Regions from separate parts of the Homo sapiens genome. Here regions 1, 2 and 4 are each linked to region 3. Evidence: promoter capture Hi-C in 16 types of primary human blood cells and fetal thymus (Javierre and others, 2016). All regions are on one chromosome and are shown on one strand. The core of a region is centred on a gene start or on the middle of the fragment in contact, and the rest is flanking DNA. Distances in the headings are between cores, read along the strand shown.

Region 1 (3,235 bases), core at 602-3,101, 570 kb before region 3:
TCTTTTTTGAACCATAGCACTTAAAATCTTATAACTAATTCTGTAGTTTACCAATTTTATTAGATCTTTTGTCTTCTCCTACTTGAATAAGCTTCTCGAAAGCAAACTATTTGTCTTTTCTTTCATCAATATATCCCCACATCGATGGGTCTAGTCTCTGAAATAATAAGTGCTCAATAAATACTTGTTGAATTAATTTCACAATAAGTAACTGGAAAAGACATGACAGTTTTAACATACATATGTTCTTATATTTAAGTGCTAGAAAAAAGTATAACTTTTCATAAAAATCAATAAATTCGATTAACAAAAATATATATTTCCCCAATCATACAAAGACTTAAAACTGTCTTCTAAATAACAAAAAATAAATTCAATTTTAAATAATAATTAAAATTAGCAAAATAATTATTAAATGTAGGACAAAAAAACAAAACCTCTAACTTTTAAATGATAATTACCAGATAATTCTTATAAGTTATCCTAACAATAATACCAAAAGGAAGATACTGCTGGTTTCCTTCTACAGATGAGGAAACAGGTTTGGAATGGATAGATAATTTTCCCAAGGTCACACAAGTAGCAAAGCTCAGACTTATTTTATACCTAGTATCATTTTTCTCCCTTTACACACAACACCAGTTAAGAGCATGGGCTCTGAGCCAGTGAGACTACATTCAAATCCACTTCAAACCTTAGGTTAATTACATTATTTCTCTGTGCCTCAATCTATTCATCTGTAAATTAGAGACAATAATTGTATAGCGCTCATACAATTGTTAGGATTAAATGAGTTAATGAGCACATAAGTACTCAATAAACATTAGTTATCACCATTACTACTATCTCCCTTAGAGACTGTAAATAATTGTAGTCAGGTGCAGTGGCTCACACCTGTAATCCCAGCACTTTGGAAGGCTGAGGTGAGCAGATCACCTGAAGTCAGGAGTTGGAGACCAGCCTATCCAACATGGCGAAATCCCGTCTCTACTAAAAGTACAAAAATTAGCCAGGCGTGGTGGCGTACGCCTGTAATCCCAGCTACTTGGGAGGCTGGGGCAGGAGAATCACTTGAACTCTGGAGACGGAGGTTGCAGTAAGCCGAAATCTGCCACTGCACTCCAGCCTGAGCGTCAGAACAAGACTCTCAAAAAAAAAAAAAAGATACTGTAAATAATTATTTTCAGAACCCTTTTGTGTTATTTTATATAATTTACTTTCTTAGTCCTTTTCAGTAAGTTCTGTTCAGTGCTATAAAGAATGGTGGGTATTTCAAAATTCGTATGGCTTTTATCAAATTTAAGTCCTCAATTGCAGAGATTTCTTTCTAGACCTTCTGTTTTCTAAGAAATACTGCCCATTTACATAAATTATCATCCTGATAAAAGGGTTTTAAATTAGAGAAATACAAAAGTCACTTATCTGGTTCTATTCTACTTAGTTTTCTATAGTTTTACTTATATAATTAAGAAATAACTACTAACACGTCTTACATATTCAGTTGAAGGTTTTTTTAATGATTGTTCATTTGGAGATGAAATATATTTATTTTTCTCTCTATAGTGTAAGTATGACATTTATTTTAAACTTTTTGTTTGAAATTTTACAAAGATGGCAGAAAACAAATCTATAGACCAATCATATTCCTGAATAAAGAGGCACAATTCTCAACGCAATGTTAGCATGCAGAATCCAGAAACAGGTTACAGGTAGAATACACGGTGACAGAGTGAACTTTAAAGAGTGAATATGGAAAGGCTGGTTGAGCACTGTCCAGGAAGGTGGAAATTAATCTATTCATTTATGACTTTTTAAATAGACCTTTTGAGGGTGTATGATTAGCTACTGTAAAACTCACCCAGGTGAAGTGTACATCTCATAACTGCTGAGTCATTAATGGAATTGAATAGCCATCATGGCGATCTGATGTCAGAAGATCTCTGACACCCAGATAGAAGGCTGATAGACGGGGTTCCTCATGCCCATTTGAAGATAAGCCCTGCCCCCAACCCAGCCCCAGTCAACCATTGATCTGTTTTCTGTCACTGTAAATTTGCCTTTTTTGAACATTTCATATCAATAGATTCATACAGTATGTAGTCTTTTGTGTCTGGCCTCTTTTCACTTAGTGACATGGTTCTGAGTTTCATCTATAGCATGTATCAGCCATAGCATGTTTTTTTAAAAAAACTTTTATGTTAAATTCAGGGGTATATGTGCAAGATGTGCAGGTTTGTTACAAAGGTAAATGTGTTTCATGGGAGTTTGTTGTACAGATTATTTCATCACCCAGGTACTAAGCCTACTACCCAATAGTAATTTTTCCTGATCCTCTCTCTCCTCCCACCCTCCGCCCTCAGGTAGGCCCAGTGTGTACTGTTCTTCTCTATGTGTCTATGTGCTCTCATCATTTAACTTAAATTGGATTTATTCTTATATAGCATCTGAAGTCTTTTATTTTACGTTTTTGATTTTCTATTTTTTTGGAGATGCAGTCTCACTCTGTCACCCAGGCTGCAGTGCAGTGGCACAATCTCGGCTCACTGCAACCTCCACCTCCCAGGTTCAAGTGATTCTCGTGACTCAGCCTCCTGAGTAGCTGGGATTACAGGCACCTGCCACCACGCCTGGCTAATTTTTGTATTTTTTGGTAGAGACAGTGAAGACCTATTCCAGTTATAAATACTAACTAATAGGAATTAGTTTCAAAGTTTGCCATAGAATTTTTCTCTCTGAAATGATTTCCATTATAAAATTTGAAATATAGTCCTATTGCAGCGGGGAGACTTAATTTAAACTTTTTGGCAAAGAGAGAGGTAAGATGTGCCTGAGGCCAAAAGAGTTAGTCGACTTTGCCGTAATATACTAAGCTACATTCAAAAAAGTTTGCCAGTTTTGCTTAAATGTACTACCCTGCATTCATTTTTCCTTCTGTACATTATGTATAATTTCCCAGAATTCTTTTTCACTTTTATCATCCTGGCTTCCTCATTCAACAAACGTTTCATTGAGCATGTTCCAAAGTACTACTGCAGGTAAGATGAATATGACTACATTCTTGCCCTCCAGTAGACTGGGCAGAAATATTTTATTTCTCCAACAGAATCATTGTCTAGTTTGATATACAACACATTAACAGTGTATTAACTACTTCAGACAGTAGGAAATGAATTAAATCTCTAATTGATGAATTCAGTATGTTAAAAATCTGTATATCAAGTTCACATATTAAAAA
Region 2 (3,065 bases), core at 563-3,062, 700 kb after region 3:
TAGAGCTATAGTACAGTATTCATATTAGTAATGAACTATACTATGGCGGAAACAACCAATATGTTGTGGTACATGCCTTTTTCTCTTAAAGTTCAATTATTCAATTTATTTTCTTTTGAAAAATTTTAATAATTGAGTTTCTTCTTTCATCTGCACAACAAATACTCCATTGCTGTAATTTTTAAAAATCAGTTACAGCTTGTCTTAATAATCATTAAGATTTGATTCTCTCACTTCCAACAACACTGAAAACCCAGGATGAGAAAGCAGTGACCAAAAAGTTTTCCAATTTTTAGCTGCTTTCGTAGGAAGTTACTGAAAATGGTGAATTCCAGATTGTTCCCCATAAGTAGAGAACTGGTTATACATTATGAATAAAAAGTTTACACTTTTTTTGTGCTTACAAAATATGACATATTTTCCCCCAGTAAGCTTTCCACCTACCTAATTCAACTTAAGCTAATTTAAACATGAGTGTATAATTTCTTTTTTTTCTTTTTTCTTGAGACGGAGTCTCACTCTGTCATCCAGACTGGAGTGCAGTGGCACAATCTTGGCTCACTGCAACCTCCACCTCCCAAGTTCAAGTGATTCTCCTGCCTCAGCATCCTGAGTAGCTGCGACTACAGATGCATGCCACCACGCTAGCTAATTTTTGTATTTTCAGTAGAGACAGGGTTTCACCATGTTGGCCAGGCTGGTCTCACACTCCTGAGCTCAAGGATCTGTCCACCTTGGCCTCCCAAAGTGTTGAGATTACAGGTGTGAGCCACCACGCCTGGCCAAAAAAATGAGTGTATAATTTTTTGAGTGCTTATTATTGGAATCGCTAGTGCAAAAAGGCTTGGAACATCATAGGAACATAAAGATTTCAATGGTATTGCTACTAGATATTGAAAATTGATGTTCCCTCCCCCACCTATTGCCACTATGAGCAATAACTAATACTTAATGGAGCAAATGTACCAGGAACACATTTGCTCTGATTCTGTGAGGTAAATTCTTTTATTATCCTAATTTTGCAGAGAAAGAAACTGAAGCACAAATAAGTCACATATTTGCCTGAGATCACACACCTGGAATTTGAACCTAGGTATCTCTCTCTCTCTAGTACCCAATGCTCTCCATCTTGCTACAGTCACAAATATGAAAGCTGACAATGAAAATGTTATCTCAGTGTCCCTCAACATGGCTGGCTCTATCACCAGTTTGTAGGCTGTTTTATATATTTAATCAACTCTCAAATTATTTCTAGTTTCTTCATCATTTTAAGGGAAAAGAAAGCAAAATCTTATTAAATGTATTGAAGGAGCTTGATCTGTGTTTCTTTTTCCTTCATGCTAGATTATAGGCTTTCTAAAAGTCTGGGTTTTCCAGAATCCATTCATTGATTCATTCATTGATTCAATCATTAGACAAAACACATAAACCAAGTTCATGTTAAGCAATCACTAAATGACAGCTATTATTATTATCACCAAGAACTAACAGCCTGAAGGGAAAGATAGATACATAAATGAAATACATATTTTTTAAGTGGAATAACAGAAGGAAGTATGTTAGTAGCTTGCCCAAGTGATCCCTAACAACACAATGATAGAGAATGTGAGTCCACATTTTACTTTTTTCATTAAAGAGAATCTTTCCTGAGCTTTATCAATGCCTCACTTAAGACAAATGACAGCCCTTCTTTTGTTCAACTTTTTATCATTATAATGGCCATTCACACAACAAAAGGGACATACTTGTGTCCCTTTTACACAAGTATAGAGAGTGCCTTTTTGTTTATTCAATAGAGAAGAAACTTTATAGAAAATAATACATTTATAAAATGTATGGTCTCCTTGAAGACCATAAAGCATGTGTTTGTAGAAAATAATATACTTGGGTAAAGTAAATATAATGATCATTTAAAAATTATTACGTTTCTAATTTTTAGTGGATGCCTCATGAGAAAGGTCTATATTTAGGCTACAGCAAAGTCTCTGGTAACTTCAGCAGAAAATAAAGACATGTGGCTACATGGCTACGCAATTTGCTCAATTGTGTAATCTTTGTACAAAAAAAAGGTCATACTGCTATCAAAGGCATTCTGCTTGCCTTAGGTCTGAAGCGTGAAATCTTAAGAGCCAAAATAAAAATTACGGAAACTGGAAACAATTCCTAATAGCCAACTGCTAAGAAAAGAAAAGGCTCTTTATTCAGAAAGTTATTTATTAAAGTAGTGTGAAAAGAATGGCAGTAATGGAACTTGGTCTTTCATAAAATGTCAAATTCTTCCAATTAGCCTCAGTGTTGTATAAAGGTATTTTGTTATATTGCTCCTTGGTATTTATTCAATATAAATGGTCCACAGGAAAAAAGGTTTCAATCTCAATAATCCATTTTTAAAGAAATTATTTTTATTATATATTTGATGGGTTATATCAGTGGCTGTAAGGAGACATCTCCTGCCAGGTGTTTTAAGCCCTTCTTATTGGCTCTGACCACCACTCCTACCTCACAGGATACTTCTTAATGGAGAGCAGTTTAATTCCAGGTCTTTGAATAAAGCCACCTTGACAGCTGCCACATTACACCTTATGGAAGACCATTATCTCTTTTCTCCACTTTCCGCATGCCCAAGAGGGGTGTTTTTAAAGAAGAAACCACACAATTAGTTTATAAGGCTTTTAGAATTTATCTTTTTCGAAGAGGGAAGTGAATCCAAAGACAGATAAGAAAGAAAACTACTTTTAAAACGGGAATGAGTATGAAATTCAGTAAATCTTGCAGACAGTAAAGAAATGAATCAGGCACAGTGGGACTGGACTAGTATATTTTCTTTAATAACAGCATCAACATGTTATATGATTTTTCCTTTTTTTCTAACATTATATAAGTGAATCCCTTTAAATCTCAATAAGAAAGAGGCACCGACTATAGAAAGTTTTATAATGTGCTTATAGTTTTTCAAAATCATATAGAAAGCATGTAATAATGTTAAGATTCTGATATAATATGCATACATTTATAAGAAAACTTTTAGAGTAAATTTATGATTGCAATTGGGAATAATATACACA
Region 3 (3,158 bases), core at 326-2,825:
TAACAAAATAAGAGATATTTCATAGGACTGATGATTTAAAAAAAAAAATTAAATACGACAGAAAATGCTTTGAATGCAAGAGAAGTGGGTTTCCATTCTATGTCTGCCATACTTAACTGTGTGACATGGAATGAGCTGAAGAACCTCTCTAAGCCTCAGTTCCTTCTTTTAGAAAATGAAGCCTTTCCAGATTTCCACTGATTCTACAATTTATCTCCAGTTTATTTGCCCCATACAAGCATATTCTTCCTTTTGTTCTTTTATTTGCTACAATTTAAGATAAGAGATCAGTGATACCTGCTAAGACTTAGAATCTGTCTATATTCAAGAAATAACATTTCAAATTAAAAATTTGAAGCCTAAAATTTGTGATTTGATTTTGTTTCCATATTAAACTATAAGTTTCCAAAATAAAAGCAACCATGTAAAAATATTATGAGATCATTTCCTTCTCCTGGGAAGGGGAGAACTGAAAAAGAGGAGAGAGGCAGGCAAAGGCCTTCTGGTCCACTTTGTTTCTGACAACCCCTTTTTCCTCCTCCCACTTAGCAGAGAGAGACGTGGCAGCCTGAGCGCTGGTCAAGCTCATCCAACCAAGAGCACTTAGGAAGTCGGCACGAACACACCTAAGTAGCAGCCTGTTGCTGAGTGACAGAAAAGAGAGGCTGAGATGGTCACTCCAAAGAACAGGAAGCAGCCAGTTCCCTCTGAACTGGTCCTCAGAGGAATCAGCTTCCTCACGCAACCCAGTTTGCCACGTCAAACTTCCTCACACAGAGCACCAAGTTAAAGAAACCTGACTCAGCTTCAAGCGGCGACACGGCAGAAAGCCACTTGGTATAAGCAGGCCTAGGATCAAAATCTGGGGAGCCCCAACCCCAGAACGGCCCCCTGGCTCACTGTCACCCAGCAACTCTAGCCAAGGTGCACTTCTAACCCTGGAACAAGTTCGTATTTGGCCAGATCAGTTTCACTATTCGGATGTCCCGAGGCTTCAAGATATAGTTGCCATTTTTACCATGAATATTTCTAACATTTCCTTCCTTCAAAAAAGGAAATTAAGTTGATAAGGAGATGAGAAAACCGCTGGCAATGACACTCGAATGGTGGCCACTGAGGATCCTAACAAGGCAGTTCCTGCATCCCAAGGCAAAAGGTGGGGGCGGGTAAAAAATGCCCACGCCCACCTCCTGCTCCCCCATCCCGCCGGCCCCACTATTAAACTGCACTAGAAGGCTAAAGAACAAAGAATGAGTTCTCCTCCCGCCGCCACTGCCTCAGGTGAGCACCCGGCCTCCCGCCGCGTCCCCGGGCCGGGCGCCGCAACCCGCTCCGCTGTGCCTGGGCAGGGCTGTCCCGCATGAAGGCGTCCGCGGGTGGGAGGCTTTACCTGTTCCCGCTCCCGCACCCCGCGGGCTTCCGAGCGCTGGCGGCTCTGCGCCTAGTGCCGGCAGCCCTCGGTGGCCGGGCTCCCGCTGCGGTCGCTTCTCCCGCCGCGCCTCTTCCCCGGCCGGCGTCCCCTTAGCCTGGACTCACGCTCGGAGTTGCAGCTGGGCTGGGAACTGCCACGTCAAACCCTTTCTCGGCTGCGCGCCCCCAGCGCCGGGCTTGGACCAGCCGCCGCGCTCCCGCCTGCGCACGCGCACAGCCACCGGCCGCCGCGGGGCGGGGCCACCGGGCTGAGCCTGCGAGCGGCCGAGCGACCTCCCCCTTTTCGCTTTTTCCCTTTTTCCGGTTTTTTGTTTTTTGGTTTTCTTTTTCCCGTCTTTTCTTTCCCCTCCCCCTACAGGTCAAAGCCTTTAACGTCGTGGCTAAATCAGAACCGTATTTTCTCGGCGCAGCCCCGCAGGAAGGAGGGGAGCGCGTTCATTCATTCTTCCATCAACAGGTTGCAGTTTCAGCTCTTCATTCATTACGTATTACTTAAATAACTAATAGTTCAGGTACTGCACTACCGTTACATACGGGAAAGTACACGATCTGGACCTAGGGGAGATTACCGTTTAAAGGCGAATCTGGCACGTGTACACGCACATTTGATGACGTACCCGTGCAATGCACTACAGAGGAAGGAACGCCCAAAGCAGCCTGGCAACGTGTAACGCGGGAGGAGTGGGGGGTGGGGGAGATGTCCCAAAGGAAAAGTGTGGGAAGTGGGGTTTCCATTGATATTGGGGTTGTTAGCGTTGTGTATACTCCTTCTTCCGCATATTCCTTGTTTGTGAAGTAGGATGGCTGATCCCAGCCCCAAACAGGAATCTCTGCATGGAAAAGCACCCAGCGTTTAGCTCACCGTCCTGTGAGAAACAGCTCAGAAATAAAGGCAACCTATATGAGATCTGGAGCTTACCTCTCTATCTCACCCTAAAATCAGGACCATCTGGCTGGTTTCCTATCATCTTTCACTGCTAAATAGAAAGACATTCAGCCACTCCCAGGTTTGGTATAGCTACCACTTTGCTCAAACTTACAAAGTAAAAACCAGCCCGGTGTTGTTGTTTTTAACATGCACTTTCTTCCCGGCTACAAGAAAGCCACTTGACAAATACCTTTACTGATGAACTGCCTAGGTAAAAACGTACATGGGGATGTTGCTACTCCCGAAATGCTACATGAATTGTGCAGGAATTTTAAGTCATTTTAGCAGTAAAGATATATGGTCCATTTATCCCACTCTTAAAAGTTTTTAAGGCATGGGGCAAGGCACAGTGGCTCACACCTGTTATCCCAGCACTTTGGGAGGCCAAGCAGGGAGGATTGCTTGAGGCCAGGAGGCAGTGAGCTATGATCACACCACTGCGTTCCAGCGTGGGCAACAGAGTGAGACCCTGTCTCAAGAAAAAGAAAAAAAGATTTTAAGGTAAGATATCTGGCCTACATCCAGCTTCAACACTGATCAGGTTTGAAAACCCACATTGAAATTTTTGTTTTAAATTGTTTCTTGTATTCTCAATGTGATGAAAATGTTCAGTGGAAGTTTAGGAAGTTTTGGCCGGTGTTGAAGCAGTACAGCTTGTAAAAGCAGTGAAAGAACTTGTCATATAACAGCTACATTACAAGGAGCGAGTGAAGCTATGATACAAAGATAGGAGAGAGTAAAGTCAGAAACAGTCACACCATGTGATGACCTGCTTGACTTGTTACCCCTATAAAACCAC
Region 4 (3,129 bases), core at 567-3,066, 640 kb after region 3:
TTTGAAACTTCCATTATTATAACTTTGTACAGGTTTTTTTTAATCCACATCTTTAATTATTTACTGATGAGAAACTCTTAGAGTTGATTTGTTGGAGAAATAGCCATGGTACAGTCAGCTCTCTCACAGATGAGGGTGAGTGTTCCTACCTCTAGGATGTGTCAGAACACCCTGGCTGCCTACAAGTGCTCTCCTCCTATTTCATTTCAGATTGTTTGCTCTGCCCTGGCATGCAATACCCTGGGTTAATGTTGCCTAGGAACTCTGCTCTGTAGGACTGGATTCTATCACCAAATTGTTTTGCAAATAGCTTATAAAAAGAAAGATAAAATTGTAGTTGACAAATACAAAGTGAGGTATTCTGTAATGGTTAAATAAACCCCCAATGGGGAATAATAGATACATATTCTAGGAAGAAAGGAGTTTGTTTCCACAAGGGATTAGTTTGGCTCACTTGAAAATGATTAAACAAACTTCACAGAAAATCATTCTCCTGATTTAGACCATCACAAATGAATGATTAACTGGCTGAACTATCACTGAGGTTATATATCAAGCTTGTATATATATCAACTCTGTTATGTATCAAGCTTGTTCAGGGCAAAGGAAAGAGCACTTAGAGGATTATACTGAAGCAAGCAGATTGCTCTCTGATTACCTCTGTAAAATCAGATTACCTCTGATTATACTGAAGCAAGCAGCAAGTGCTCTCTGATTACCTCTGTAAAAGGGTTCACCTTAGTCTTTTTTTCCCTCATGTAAGAGATAATGGAAGAACACTGATGCTGGACTTCTGTTTAACTGGGATGTATGGTGATAGTATAGAGAAAGGAGATTTCAATGGAAAAAGAGGAATAGACAACATAAAAAAGGGTAATTCATGAGAAAATTCCTGACTCAGCTGTCTTTGTTAGATGATAGAAGTGCATAACAGTTCTCTCTTAATACAGCATAATTAGTATGTATGGTTTGCACGCTAAGAAAGATGGCACAGGTGATGTCTACACTGTAATCTCCATTGATATCTGGGTAGCAACCCACAGCAAAAGACTTAAAGTGACTTTTCTCTCAGAGATGGCCAATTAGCATATGGGCCCTTTCTACTGTGAACACACAGTAGTTAGGAGAGTATGGACTTTGGAGCCACACCCAAGTTCGTATTCCAGCTATGCCTCTTACAAACTGTGTGATTTGGAGTAGTAACTAACCATCTCTGCCTTGTTTTCCTTTCTAAAAAATGGGTGTAAAATCACCTACCTAATGCAGTTATCATGAAGATCAAATGAGTTAATGTATGGAAAGGGGTGGCACATAGTTACTCCTCAGTAATGTTGGCCTCATTCCCTCTCCCTGCTTTCTGTAATGCAGAGAATTATCTTCTGGTAACTTCATTGAAAAGGCCTCTTTAGGCATGAAATCACCTGCCAGCTGTGCTGAGGACAGGCTTCACAGAGCTCCTGGAGGCTAATTAAGGTGCAGAGTTCAGAGCAGAAAGATGCTTCACTATACCTGTGGCAGGATGGCCACCAGGGCCTGTTCCCTGGCCAGAGTAAGCACTCTTTCCCTAGGGATTTGGAACAGCCCCATTCTCACCTGGTGTTTACCCCAGGTTTTGAAGAGATTCCAAACTAGAGCAGCAAGCAAAGTCTAGAGCTGACTGGGGAACCAGCCCTACCCTGGATATTGGCCTCTGATGAAAGCACCACTAAACCTCACCTTCTCTCCTAAATCTCTTCAGAAATGCTTACTCTCTGTGATAGACATGGAACAGATTGTTTTGCCTCAGGGATTTATTGATTGATTTTGCCAAAGTCTTTCCCAAGGCTCCTTTCAAAACTGGACTGATCCCTTGGTTCTGGGAATGAGTGGTGAACATCAGACCTCTGGAATGGTGGCTGGTCAATGTCTTTGCCCTCTCAAGTTGCTCTTGAATGTTGATTCAACTCATTAGGACATACTTGGATGATGAATTAGAAGGAGCATCTTTGCCCTCTACTTACAGATCCTAGGAACAATTTGTGGAATTATCAGTAAGCAATATCTGTAACAGATAAAATGTCTGCTTTCCCTTTGCCCCTCTTAGCCTATGACATGCCACATCCAATTTGTCTTCGTTCCAACTGTGAGAGGTCTTAATTTCATCATTCTGGCCTTTTGCAGTTAAATGTTCTCCAAGGATATGATCTATGGGGAGAGGACTGATAGTGGAACTAATCTTTCAAAGTTCTGCTTAAGCAATTGTAGATAACATAGGAGAAGAAACTCTGGAAACAATTATGATTATCCTAGTTCTGCCCCTGTGGAAATTCAATCCGAAACCCTTCATGTTTTTGCTTCTCTCTTCTCTACATGGATGGAATATGTTATACTTTTTTGAGCTGAAAAATCTAAATAATTAGAAAAAGACAAAGTTGTAATGAGTTTTCTGTTTAAACTTATAGGACCCTTTCTAATAAAAGTGTTATTGTAATCATTGAATCGTTAGTTAACTGCTTTGTATGGTTATGTCTTGTCTCTCTTTAATCCAGGGACTGCAAGCAACTAGGCAAAAAACTAACAAAAAAACCAATGTTTTATAAGAGTGGTTCTCAAACTTTAAAGTGCTGATTAAAGCACAGATTGCCCAGGCCTCACCCTCAGTAGATGGGTATGGGGCCCAAGAACTTTCAACAGGAGATGCTGCTGCTGCAGCTTGTCTAAGAACTACACTTGGAAAATTACTAATTTGTGTAATAAATACCTGACCATTTGGAATCCTTAGAGGATGGAAATATTTTGTAATGCTGTGTGCAAGATTTGATATAGAAAAACTTGGGTTCAAGTGGCAATTCAGCAGATTACAAGAGGTGAAACAACTGAGTTTCTGAGACTCAGTTTTATTATCTGAAAGTCAGGAATGAAAATAATGCCTATGTGGCAGAACTGCTATAAAGATCAGACAAGGTCGTGTATGGGAAAGGCCTTGGTAAATGGAAAAGCACAATCTAAGTGTAACTTATTCTAGATGTGTTTTCAATAGGCAAGTTTTATATACCTAAGACTAAAAGCTTGCATTTTAATCCCTGGGATTGAAATCTTTCACCATCATCACCATGATGGTAATAACAACAATAACAATACTAGTGCACT

Evidence for each region. The method cuts DNA at HindIII sites, captures the fragments that hold promoters and counts their contacts. A CHiCAGO score of 5 or more calls a contact.
Region 1: a contact is called between a fragment that was not itself captured here and the fragment with the promoter of SEC24D in region 3, in 2 of 17 cell types (activated CD4 T cells and fetal thymus). The highest score is 5.9, in activated CD4 T cells.
Region 2: a contact is called between a fragment that was not itself captured here and the fragment with the promoter of SEC24D in region 3, in 1 of 17 cell types (naive CD8 T cells). The highest score is 5.4, in naive CD8 T cells.
Region 4: a fragment that was not itself captured here is called in contact with the fragment with the promoter of SEC24D in region 3 in 3 of 17 cell types (total B cells, naive CD8 T cells and non-activated CD4 T cells); the score reaches 7.2 in total B cells.

Annotation. Positions count from the first base shown.
Region 1 is chr4:118,267,088-118,270,322 of GRCh38, forward strand. No RefSeq gene overlaps it. Among named protein-coding and RNA genes, the nearest start is that of SNHG8, 10 kb to the right of the region's middle. The HindIII fragment of the contact is 3,524 bases long and covers 90-3,235 here.
Region 2 is chr4:119,530,793-119,533,857 of GRCh38, forward strand. The region is part of intron 11 of PDE5A (phosphodiesterase 5A); the gene reads right to left. Among named protein-coding and RNA genes, the nearest start is that of PDE5A, 96 kb to the right of the region's middle. RefSeq lists an enhancer at 1,322-1,931. The HindIII fragment of the contact is 2,764 bases long and covers 431-3,065 here.
Region 3 is chr4:118,834,551-118,837,708 of GRCh38, forward strand. SEC24D (SEC24 homolog D, COPII component) reads right to left here and starts at 1,576. Exons shown (of 23, transcript NM_014822.4): 1 at 1,391-1,576. RefSeq lists enhancers at 932-1,823, 1,444-1,738 and a silencer at 1,250-1,739. The HindIII fragment of the contact is 6,235 bases long and covers 1-3,158 here.
Region 4 is chr4:119,478,458-119,481,586 of GRCh38, forward strand. It overlaps the pseudogene SEPTIN7P14. Among named protein-coding and RNA genes, the nearest start is that of LINC01061, 69 kb to the left of the region's middle. The HindIII fragment of the contact is 2,457 bases long and covers 589-3,045 here.